Linked DNA regions of Homo sapiens: region 2 is linked to region 1. Evidence: promoter capture Hi-C in human tissues and cell types (Jung and others, 2019). All regions are on one chromosome and are shown on one strand. The core of a region is centred on a gene start or on the middle of the fragment in contact, and the rest is flanking DNA. Distances in the headings are between cores, read along the strand shown. Region 1 holds the start of OR10X1 (olfactory receptor family 10 subfamily X member 1). Region 2 overlaps SPTA1 (spectrin alpha, erythrocytic 1).

Region 1 (6,547 bases), core at 1,764-4,263:
ATCTTTTTTCTTACTTCCCATCTGGAGAAATTCAAATCTAGAAGATACAGCAGCTTTCCCAATGTCACTAAGCTAGCACCAGTGTTTTTCATATTAAATCAATCTCAGTCTCTTTTGAGTGGTGAAAAAAAGTATGCTTCCAGCAATATTGTGAAGATTATCTTTTGGAAGAATATAATCGTGACAGTGAATTAATTGGCTTTGGAGCCTGATAAAATAAACAAGGTAGGAAACTATTTTAGACGGTTTTACTCTCTTCTCCTCATAACTAATTGTCACTACAAAAAGAAACGGTCATTGGGATAACATTACATATCTTTTCCATATCACCATTTCTCTTTGGAAAGTGTGTGTGTGTATGTGCGAGTGTGTGTGCGTGTGTATATATATATGTCACGTATATGTCATATATGACATATATATATGTCAGTGGATTCATAACCCAAATTAAATTTGACACAGGTGGATTTAGGGACAACTTCAGAGATAGATGAGGTAGGGTGGGACATAATATCCTCACAACACACACACACACACATACAAAATCACGCACACATTTAGAATATACCAGAAGTGGAGATTCTGACATTTATACTCTACTGCTGATGATTCACCAAGGAAATATTTAGCACACAGTCAAGTAAGGACTAGATAAGAAAAGACCTATCTTGGAATTTGTATTGGTGATTATTTGCATTTTCAAAAAGCTTATGAATTTAATGGTGACTTTAAAAACAGCACCTCCTCCAACCCCCTCGCTGCCCCCTAGTCCCTGCCTCAAATCCCAGGGCTGTGTTGGAAGAGGTAGAACACGTGTAAAATCAGACTGTTTTTTTTCTGGTAGTATGTTAGAAAAAGCTTGGGTTTTGTACCAAGGCCATCAAGTACTAAAATAACTTATTGTTTTGCTAATCTATTTCATATTTACCCTTTGCTATATTTAATCCTTTAGTTGTAGAATCCACATAATTTCCTTTCTTACAGAGTTACTGTGAAGGGTCAAGAGTGCTTGGGAGCATTGGTGTATGAAGTGCTCTACTGATAGGAGGAATTTTTTGCAGTGGCTTAGGAATAAGCAGAAGGAACCTATTGAAGCCTAATACTTCTGGAAGGAAAAAGATGCCTCTGAACAGTTGAAATGTAGCAGAAAGCTGATCATAGAGAAAAGTGGAACAATCATCTGCAAGTAGATTTGGAAACCAAAGATACTCGTACTGAATGTGGTTACTAAAGAGGCTCACACCAAAAGGCCTCAAGAGGAAGCCCCGGGTTATAATAGACATGGTCCTCTATAATATTCCCTTAGGTAAGAGAACAGAAAAATGGTCTTCTTATTGGGAAATGACTGCTCACTAAGAAGAGTAGATACAGTAAGTGAAAGGGAAACAGAATGGAGAAAGAGTTGATAGGAGATAAGAAAAGATTAAGTCATGTGATTCATGTATGACTGTCAGAGAGTAAGAAACTTGTAAGGTCTAAGAAGACAAAGAACCAAAGGGACCTTTAAAGTAGAGTCCAAAGGGTTGTGGATTATTTTAGGAACCACTTATAATTCAGACCTTTTTTCTACTGTGTCTTCTGACTGTCAGTGATAAGTTAGACTCTGCCATGAGAATGCTTAATCTTAGCCTAAACAAAACCTAATTAGAGTGGAAAGTCTGTTAACCTCCATGCTCAAAAATCAAATGCTATACAGTGCTGAATAACAAAGGAAAACAAAAATCATTTATATACTAAGCACTTTTTTGATGATTAACTCATCCATCTAACATTCACCAGGAATTATTACCTTCTTAAAGTGCTCCATATTATTACTCTGAAAAATACAAAAATATAAGACTTATGGTCTCTTTCTTGAAGCACTAAGCATTGATAAATGAAAAGAGTATACAATTCAAGTCAAATCTCTTTGCTTCTAGTCACAAATATGCCACTTCCAAGACATAATTTTATTTCTAAAATAAGTAATCACACTTGTCCTACCCATTTCGCAACCGTCCCATTCACTTTATATTTATGCTGTGAAGAGTAAAATCAATAAACATTTGAAATAATTTGGAAAAATATAAACCCCACAAATGCTAGTTATTAAATATGTTGACATATGGGGCAGGGAAAACAGTAGCTCAATATACTACAGGGCTGAAACAATGTGTTAAATATAGGGACTAACAACATGCTATAGAAATCAGAGGACTATGAGATTAAATCAGATGTAGCATTATTGAAAAATTTATACAATTATTAAATGCCACTTATTTTCTTTGAATGCTGAGCTGGGAATTAACAAAATAGACACAATCTCAATTGCCACCTGCACTATGCTTGTATAGTCTGCTTATCAAAACCATCCACAGATTTAATTAATTACTATTAATCCTAAGAGTCCTAGGCTACCCTATCTTTCTTCTTTCCCTCTTCTCAGAGCAGAAATAATGACACATGTTTTTTTAACTTTCTTTTAAAATTCTAGGACCTAAATATATTCTCCAAGAAGGGTTAATGACTTTGGGCTTCTCCAACAATTGCAAGTGATTGTCCAAGTTTTGTCCTAAAATTACTTGGAAATCAATTCTTGATATTTACGCAGTAAATATTTATAGACCATACATTGTGTGGAAGTTTCTGTGTTGGACCCTGACTCTATTAGCCACTTAAAAGTTTTCTCTGTGTTCAGAAGCTCATCCAAATAAAGCTCACCTAATGCATCTGAACCTCCTTTATCTGAGCATCAACTGGAGTGTTTCCTCCCATATTATACCACATGCTCATAAAATCCTTTTAAAAATAGGCCAGAGCAAGCCTTCTTGTCATATACATAGTGATGTCATATACTAAGTCATCACTAATTAGCTGCTGAATAAAGGAAAAAATGAATGGATGAAAAATGAGAAAAACACATTACCTACATATACATAGTTTTGCTAAACTACAAGAAAAAGCAGTTGGTAATTGTAATTCTGATGATTTATCTTAGTCATCACAATTTTCCTTTGATGGTATCAAAAGATAATGGTGTTGAATGTTTATTGTTGTTTCTTTCAAATTTCAGACATTCAAACGATGAAGATCAACCAGACAATCCTGAAGGAATTCATTCTTGTTGGCTTTTCTGTGTACCCACATGTACAGACATTTCTTTTTGTGGTCTTCTTTTGTCTCTACCTTCTCACCCTTGCAGGTAATCTGATCATCATGGGTCTAACTTGGGTGGACAGGTCCCTCCACACCCCTATGTATCTCTTCCTTAGTGCACTCTCCTTCTCTGAGACCTGCTATACGCTGACCATCGTCCCCAAGATGCTGGAAGATCTACTGGCCAAGGACAGAAGCATTTCAGTCACAGGTTGTAGCTTACAGATGTGCTTCTTCTTGGGACTTGGTGGCACAAACTGTATCATTCTCACTTTGATGGGATATGACCGCTTCCTGGCCATCTGTAACCCTCTAAGATATCCACTGCTTATGACCAACATTGTATGTGGACAACTTGTGGCCTCTGCTTGCACTGCAGGCTTCTTTATCTCTCTTACAGAGACTGCACTGATATTCAGGGACTCTTTCTGCAGACCCAACCTTGTCAAACACTTCTTCTGCCATATGCTGGCAGTTATTAGGCTGTCTTGTATAGACAGTAACCACACAGAATTCATTATAACACTGATCTCAGTGTCTGGTTTGCTGGGTACCCTTCTGCTCATCATCCTGACTGATGTCTTCATTATTTCTACTGTCCTCAGGATCCCTTCAGCTGAGGGCAAGCAGAAGGCCTTCACCACCTGTGCCTCCCACCTCACCGTGGTTATAATCCACTTTGGTTTTGCATCTATTGTTTATTTGAAGCCAGAAGCCTCAGGAGATGACACACTCATAGCAGTCCCTTATACTGTCATTACCCCCTTCCTCAGCCCCATCATATTCAGCCTGAGGAATAAGGACATGAAAAATGCTTTTAGAAGAATGATGGGAAACACAGTTGCCTTGAAAAAATAATCTTGGGTTGTTGCTGCTTGTTTGAAGAAGGGCTCAATGTCCCCAGAATTCAATAGGGGCATTTATCCTGTGACCCCTGGAGAAACTTGTACCATTTGCCTTGTTCCAGAGGTTGGGATGTAAGAAGCAAGTGACACAGACTGGGAACTAAGTAGCCACAGGCATCTACTTAGCTTGTTAGAGAAGCTGTCCAACCCTTCTACTATCCAGTATCAGAAGAAGAATGTCCCTGCAGATAAAAGATTCTGATAATCAACTTCCGGGTGTCCTGCAGTATTCATGAATTGAGTAAAAAGTGTGGAAGGAAAAAACAGCATATAAATCCACTGCACTGAGTGATGTTTTAAATATCTAAAGATGTCAACCATGGCTCAGGCTTGTAATCCCAGCACTTTGGGAGGCCGAGGTGGGCAGATCACTTGAGGCCAGGGGTTTGAGACCGGCCTGGCCAACATGGTAAAACCCCATCTCTACTAAAAATACAAAAATTAGCTGGGCATGGTGGTGGGTGCCTGTAATCCCAGCTACTCGGGAGGCTGAGGCAGGAGAATAGCTTGAACCCAGGAGGCAGAGTGAGCAGAGACCATGCCATTGCACTCCAGCCCAGGTGACAAGAGCAAAACTCCATCTCAAATAATAATAATAATAATAATAATAATAATAATAATAATAATAGACGTAAAAGTTAAGGATTTTTTTTAGGCAAATGTTATGAAGCACTGAAATGCACCTCCCATGAGACAAATCATTTCTGATAAGAGATGTAAGAGTATTGATGTAATTTTGAGTTCTGTTACTTATGGGAATGTTATGAAATAAATGAAATAGTGGATAAATTTATTATGCACATTAACTGATTAAGTTTACCCCTGACCATGACACTCTTTCTTTGGGATTATTTTCATGATACAGGTGCAGACAAAAATCTCTGCTACCTTCAATCTGCAGCCATTCCTTAGTGGCAAGCATTTTCTTTTGCTTTGGTTCCACTCCCGACAATTGGTTATTCAATCTAGGGAAGCTAAAAGTCTCAAAAATAAATACTATTTACTCCCTTATTATGGATGCAGAGGATGTTACGTCAAGTCTAGACTCAAGATCCTGAACCTAAATTTGGACCAATTAGCCTGCTTGTGCCTGATATAGTGACTGTGGCGGGGATTGCTAGTTGCCAGAAATAAGTGAGTAAATGGAAGCTGAAAATACCCAAAGACTCATACCCATATGGGCACTTGCTTTATGACAAGTAAAGCATTTCAGTACAGTGAGAAAATGATAGACTTTCAATATAACTGGTGCTAGGAAAATAGCATATCCATATGAGAAAAACAAAATCTGAAAAAAAAAATCAATTTCTGGAAATCGAAAACTAAATTTGAAAAGTGAAGCAATAAAACTTTAAAAGGTAATGAAGAAGATATCTTCACCAACTTGAGATAGAAAAGACTGTTTAAACTGTATGTAAAATTTTTAACTAAAATGAAAAAGGCTGATTAAATCAAAATTGAGACATTTTATTCATCAAAAAGACGCTATTGAGAGAGTGGAAAAGAAAGCCAAATCATATAGCTATAAAGAAATTTCAGAGACTGATAAGTATGAAATTTAGGATCATAATTACTTTTAGAAGGAGGGTCTGTGAGTGGGCAGGATGAGGGGCACATGAAAAACTCCTGATGGGCAAAGTTCTTTTCCTTGGTCTAGGTAGTAACTGCAAAGGCTTTTGCCCGTGAAAGATTCACTAAGCTATGTATTTGTTTAAATAATTTTCTGTGCTTACATTTTATTTTCTAATGTAAGGATTAAACAAAGCAATGCACAGAAAGATAAAAAAGTCTCTAACATGTAACTGGCAAAGGCCCTCATTTGGTATATGCAGTCATGCGTCACTTAACAATAAGGATGTATTCTGAGAAATGTGTCACTTTGTGATTTTGTCAATGTGTAAACATCACAGAATGTACTTACAAAAACCTACAATGCACATAGACTGTATGATATAGCCTAATGTTCCTAGGCTACAAATGTGTACATTATGTTACTGTACTGAATACTGTAGGCAGTCCTAACACAGTAGTGTTTATGTATCTAAACATATCTAAGCATAGAAAAGGTACAGTAGAAATACCGTTTTATACTCTTGTGAAACCATCATTGTCTTTGTGGTCTGTCATTGACCAAAACATTATTGTGTGGTATATGGCTGTATAAATAATTTCTAAAAGAAATAAAATTCTCAAAAAATAAATTAAAAGACAATAGAAAAATTTCTAAGAGATGCAAATAGATCCTTTATAAAAGAGAATATCCAAATGTTCAATAAATACCTTAAAAGGTGCTTGGTCTCATTAGTAAGCATGAAAATGAACATTAAAACCCCAGTGAGGTACTACCACATACTCACTTGAATGGCTAAAATTAAAAGGCTAGATTAACGAGTGTCAAAAAAGAAACATGAAGCAACAAGAACTCTTCAGTGCTCCTTTTTTTTTTTTTTTTTGTGAGTTGAGTCTTGCTCTGTCACCCAGGCTGGAGTGCAATGGTGCGATCTCGG
Region 2 (6,547 bases), core at 4,048-6,547, 49 kb before region 1:
TAGATTCCTTGCAGATTATAGATTTTGAAAGGATTCCCTTGAATTTTCATGTTACATTGATTTGGAAAAAAATCTTCTTATGTCTGGACATTGGCTGCAGTTTCAACAAAATATAATTTTAGGAAGAAGGGCTTACTGGACAAAATAGTTCCACAATTTATAGACATCCTTTTAAATGCAGGATTGGGTTTCTCTATAAAGAAATGAACAATTAATCAGTGTGATCTTGAGTTAATGTAAATTTTGACGGCTTTTGAGAGTGATTACAAAACAAGAATGTATTAGGACTTTGGAAACTGTGCCTAGTAACCCTAAAAATTGGGAATTTACCAAGAACTCTTTGTAGAAATTAATTCACTTTAATGTGATGACATAAGGAAAGGCTTAGACTTGCAAAAGATAACTTAAACCTATACAACATATAATTCAAATTATCAGCTCATCTTATTTGTAAGTCTTTTGGATCATGCATGTGCACCCCACTGCACATGTTCAAGCATTTTAAGGCTTCCTATCAAATGCTCTCAAAGGCTTCCCTTTCTTTACAACAGAACTTTTTCTTTTTTCTTTTCTTTTTTTTTTTTTTTTTCGAGACAGAGTCTCACTCTGTCTCCCAGCCTGGAGTGCAGTGGAGTGATCTTGGCTCACTGCAAGCTCTGCCTCCCGGGTTCATGCCATTCTCCTGCCTCAGCCTCCCGAGTAGCTGGGACTACAGGCGGCTGCCACCACGCCAGGCTAATTTTTTTGTATTTTTAGTAGACAAGGGGTTTCACCATGTTAGCCAGGATGGTTTCGATCTCCTGACCTCGTGATCCACCCACCTCAGCCTCCCAAAGTGCTGGGATTACAGGCATTAAAACAGAACTTTTTATTTTGAGAATTATAGATTCACATGCAGTTATAAGAAATAACACAGACAGATCTCATGTCCTTTACCAAGTTTTCTCTAATGGAAACATCCAGAAAAGCAGTATATCATAAATGGGATATTGACATTGTCAAGATTCAGTTAAGATTCAGAAGGCTAGCATCATCACAAGGATCACTGCTGTTGCTTTTTTATAGCCACCTCCTCTTCCTGCCTCTTCAAACTGTGGCAACCACTAATCTGTTCTACATTTCTATAAGTTTGTCATTTCCACGCTGCTATACAAATGAAATCATATAGTATGTAACTTTTGAAGATTGACCTTTTCACTCAGCACCATACTCTGGTGATTAATTCTGGTTATTGTGTGTAACAATAGTTCATCCCTTCTTATTTCTGAGCAGTGTCGTGGTATAAGAATATCACAGTCGAACCACTCACCTGTTGAGGGGAGTCTGGGCTGTTTCCACTTTTTGATGACTATGAGAAAAGCCACTATAAATATTCATGCACAGATTTTAATGCAAACATAAGTCTATTTCTCTGGGATAAATGTACAGGACCCCAATCACTGAACCATATAGTAACTGCCTATTTAGTTTTGGACCAAAAAAAAAAAAAAAGCCAAATTCCTTTCCTGTTTGTATGGCTATATCATTTTGCACTCTTAACAACAATGCATAAATGATGCAGTTTGCAGTTTCCCTATATCCCTGCTAGCATTCTGTGTTGTCACTACTTTTATTTTAGTCATTCACATAGATATATAGTGATACCTCATTGTAGCTCATATGTGCATTTCCTTAATGGATAATGATGTTTTACATTTTTTGTCATGTGTTTATTTGACATCTGTATTTTTCCTCAGTGAAATGTCTCTCTATTTTCTAATTGAATTGTTAGTTTGTTCATTTTGATTTGTTTTATTGTGACAAAAACACTGAACATGAGATCTACTCTCTTAATACATTTATACGTGTATAACATATTATTGTTGACTATAGGTACAATGTTGTAGGCTGTATAGAAATGCTCTTGAGCGTTTTCATCTTGCTTGACTGTAATTTATGCCTTATGGTTAGTAAAACTTCAATTTTTTTCTCAGCCTCTGGTAATTAACATTCCACTCTTTGATTTTATAAATTTGTCTACCTCATATAGGTGGAATCATGTAGCATGTATCTTTCTATAACTGGCTTATTTTGCTTAGCGTAATGTCCTCAAGGTTCATCTATGTTGTTAAATGTTGCATAACTTTCTTATTTTTTAAGAATAAATGGTATTTTATTGAATGAATATACCACATTTTTTTCATTCATTCATCTGTTGATGGACATTTAGGTTGTGTCCATATCTTGGCTATTGTTAATAATGCTGCAATGAACATATGGATGCTAATATCTTATTGAAATCATTATTTCCTTATCCTTTTGGATAAATACCCAGAAATAGAATTGCTGGACGATAGGTAGTTTTATTTTAAATGTTTCAAGAATATTCATGTTGTTTTCCATAACAGCTGTGCCATTTTGCATTCCCACTAAGAATGTGAAAGGGCTTCAATTTCTGCATATCTTCACTAACACTGGCCTTTTATGTTTTGTTAATAGCCATCCTGACAGGTGTGAAGTGATATCTCATTATGGTTTAATTTGCATTTTCCTAATGGTTAATAATGTGAAGCATCTTTTCATATACCTGAGGGGCATTTACATGCCTTTTTAGGGAAATTTCTATTAAACTTCTTAGCTCATTTTTATTATTTTTAAATTTATTTATTTCAATACTTTTTTAGGTACAGGTGGTTTTGGTTATATGGATAAGTTCTTTAGTGGTGATATCTAAATTTCTGGTACACCTATCACCCGAGCAGTGTGCACTATATCCAATATGTAGTCTTTTATCCCTGACCCCTTTCCCACCCTTTCCCTCAAGTCCTCTAAGTCCATTGTATCATTTTAATGCCTTTTAATCCTCATAGCTTAGCTCCTATTTATAAGTGAGAACGTAAGACATTTGGTTTTCCATTCCTGAGTTACTTCACTTAGAGTGGCCCCCCAACTCCATCCAGGTCGCTGCAAACGCCATTATTTTGTTTTGTTTCATGGCTGAGTACTATTCCATGATGTATATATACCACATTTTCTTTATCTACTCATTAATTGGGCAATAAGTTGGTTGGTTATTTTTGCAATTGCAAATTGTACTGCTATAAACACAAGTATGCATGTGTCTTTTTCATAAATGACTTCTTTTCCTTTGGGTAGATACCCAGTAGTGGGATTACTGAATTGAGTGGTAGTTCTTTAAGGAATCTCCATACTGTTTTTTATAGTGGTTGTACTAGTTTACATTTTCACCAGCAGTGTAAGAGTGTCCCGTTTACCACATCCACACCGATATCTATTATTTTTTGACTTTTTAATATGGCCATTCTTTCAGGAGTAAGGTGATACCTCATTGTGGTTTTAATTTGCACGTCCCTGATAATTAGTGATATTGAACATTTTTTCATGTTTGTTTTTAGCCCATTTTTAAATCAAGTTATTAGGGGTTTTTTACTTTTATTTTTATTTTTTATTTACTTTTTAGTATTGAGTTATATTAGTTCCTTATATATTTTAGAGATTAACCCCTTATTAGGGAAATCATTTATAAGTATTAACTCTCATTCAGTGGGCTGCCTTTTCACTCTGTTGATTGTTTCCTTTGCTGTGCAGAAGTTTTAGCTTTATATACTCCCATTTGTTTATTTTTTCTTTTTGTTGCCTGTGCTTTTAGTGTCATATTTATGTAATCATTGCCAAGACCAGTATCATGAAGATTTTACCCTACCTTTTCTTTCAGGAGTTCTATAGTTTCAAGACTTACATTTAAGTCTTTAAACAATTTTGAGTTGATTCTTGGGTATGGCATAAGGGTCTTATTTCATTATTCTGCAAGTGAAAAGCAGTTTTCCCAGCACTATTTGTTAAAGAAGCTGTCTATTCTCCATTGTATATTTTTGGCACCCTTGTCAAAGACCAGTTAACTACATATACATGGGTTTATTTCTGGACTCTCTATTCTGTTTCATTCATCTATGTCTGTTTTTATGCCAGTACCATACTCTTAATTATTGTAGCTTTTTACTGTATTTTAAAATCAGGAAGTGTGATTCCTTCAGCTTTGTTCTTCTTTGTCAATATTGATTTGACTATTTGTGGTCTTTTCTGATTCCATATAAATTTTAGAATTGATTTTTCTATTTCTGTAAAAAATGTCATTGGGATTTTAATAGGGATTTCATTGACCTTGTACATCACTTTGGGTAGTATTCACATTTTAACAATATTAAATCTTCTAATCCATGAACACAGAATATTTTTCCATTTGTTTGTGGCTTCTTTAATTTCTTTTATCAATGTTTTGTAGTTTTCAGTGTATGAGCTTTTCACCTCCTTGGTTACATTTATTTTTATATATTTTATTATTTTTGATGTGATTGTAAAAGGAATTATTTTCTTAATTTCTTTTTCAGATAGTTTATTGTTTACAATTTCTAAACCGACTTTTATGTTTTGAGTTTTATTCTGTAACTTTGCTGATTGGTTTACTAGTTCTAACAGTTTTTTATGGAGTGTTCAGAGTTCTCTGTATTTAAGATTATGTCACTTGCAAACAAAGAAAATTTTACTTCTTCCTTTCTTATTTAGATGCCTTTTACTAGGACTTCCAGTACTATCTTAAATAGAAATAGTGAGAGCGATTATCTTTGCCTTGTTCATAAACTTAAAGGAAAAGCTTTTAGTTTCACCATTAAATATGATGTTAGCTGTGGGCTTTTCATACATGTACTTTATCACGTTGAAGCAATATCCCTCTGTTCTTAGTTTGTTGATGGTTTTTATCATGAAAGAGTGCTGAATTCTGTCCATTTTTTTTCAGAATCTATTGAGATGATGATTTAGTTCTATCTTTTTTTGTGTCAATGTGTTGTATCACATTTATTGATCTGCATATGTTGAACCATCCTTGCATCCCAGGGATAAATTCTGCTTGTTTGTGGTATATAATCATTTTAATGTGCTGCTGGATTCAACATGCTAGTATTTTGTTGAGGAGTTTTGCATCTATATTCAATAAGAATATTAAGGATATTAGGCCCTCTATATTCAGATAGATAGATAGATAGATAGATAGATAGATAGATAGAGATATATTTTGTCTCTCTTGATAGACATATCTATCTATCTATCTATCTATCATCTATCTATCTATCTATTGAGAGAATTATCGCCTGGCTTTGGTGTCAGGGTAATGCTGACTTTGCGAAGGTGTTTAGAAATGTTCCCTCCTCTTAAATTTTTTGAAACAGTTTGAGAATAATTGGTATTAATTATTTAAATATTTGATTTAATTCATCAGTGAAGCCATCTGGTCTTGGGATTTTCTTTGTTGAGAGGTTTATTTCTGATTCAGTCTCCACAGTAGTTATAGGTCTGTTTGGACTTTCTTCATGATTTGGTCTTTGCAAGTTGTCTGTTTCTAGGAATTTATCTATTTTCTCTAGATATTCTAGTTTATTGGCATATAATTATTTGTAATCTTTTCTTGTGATCTCTTTTATTTCTTTGACAACAGTTCTAATGTTTCTTCTTTTATTTTTGAATTTATTATTTGAAAATAGAAGGCGAAGGTGAAGATGTTAAAGATACTTTATTTCATGCAGTATACATATATAAAAATATGATTCATTCAGGCTTTCAGTCATACAAAGTCAATCACCTTTCCAATATTCATTTACCGTTTCTTCAAAAAATAAAATGTAATACAGTCATAATATATAATGTAGTCCATCTTGTTTTACAATGAGTAACCATCTTATTTTAGTGCCTCAACACCATGAACTGAAAGTCCTTTTATTTTCAATAGGGATTTTGAAAAAGTATAATAGTCATAGAAATTCTCTTTCTTCCTTTAACCTGACTTACTATGTTGTATAGGAAAAAAATTGACAGAGTGCTTTTATGACAAGAGGGAGGTGAAGGCAGTAGTGGGAGCAGTGGCAGTGGTGGGTGGTCATGGTGGTGGTGATTATGGGCTTTTATAGATATTTCTCTGGAAGGTACAACAGAAGACAAAGTACCACTCTTCATGCTTCAGCCTCACTTCTCTTTTCATTCTGCCAGCTACACAGACATCATGTTTCCAGAAAGCAGTCAGAGAACTATTGGAGTAATCGTCAGTGGCAGCTCCATGTTCCCCTTAACTTCTCTTTAGGATCAGGGCTTAGTTTAGGATGTTCTTGATACTAAATTTTTTTCTGCTAGACACATTGTTTCATTGAATTAGATAAATCTCAATATGGAGGAATCTTTATATACGACCCCAGTCAAAACCCTCATTCCAAAATCAAAATAAGATTAGTCACATAATAAATTAGAAAGAATGTCACTTGTATATCTTTGACTCTTTTTTCCAGTAAGTTGCACTCAGTGACAAGTGAGAATTTGAGAAAGCAATTGAGTATAGTTATTCCAGAAAAAGTGGGCATTCACCTAGTCTGCCAATTTCATTGAATCAACCCTAGGGAATAATAGACCCGTGAGTCTGAATATGAGTGAATATAGATTTTCCGGCTTTGGATATCTTAATTCTCACCGACTTATTTATGCAGAGCTTGCTAATGAAGCATGA

The links. The method cuts DNA at HindIII sites, captures the fragments that hold promoters and counts their contacts. A contact is called where the count stands out against the background at its distance.
Region 2: a fragment that was not itself captured here is called in contact with the fragment with the promoter of OR10X1 in region 1 in 3 of the 25 tissues and cell types used here (adrenal gland, heart left ventricle and psoas muscle).

Annotation. Positions count from the first base shown.
Region 1 is chr1:158,576,365-158,582,911 of GRCh38, reverse strand. It overlaps OR10X1 (olfactory receptor family 10 subfamily X member 1), which reads left to right and starts at 3,013. Exons shown (of 1, transcript NM_001004477.1): 1 at 3,013-3,993. The coding sequence starts at 3,013. The coding sequence ends at 3,993. The HindIII fragment of the contact is 15,386 bases long and covers 347-6,547 here.
Region 2 is chr1:158,627,704-158,634,250 of GRCh38, reverse strand. It overlaps SPTA1 (spectrin alpha, erythrocytic 1), which reads left to right. Exons shown (of 52, transcript NM_003126.4): 40 at 6,528-6,547. Among named protein-coding and RNA genes, the nearest start is that of OR10Z1, 26 kb to the right of the region's middle. The HindIII fragment of the contact is 6,302 bases long and covers 2,147-6,547 here.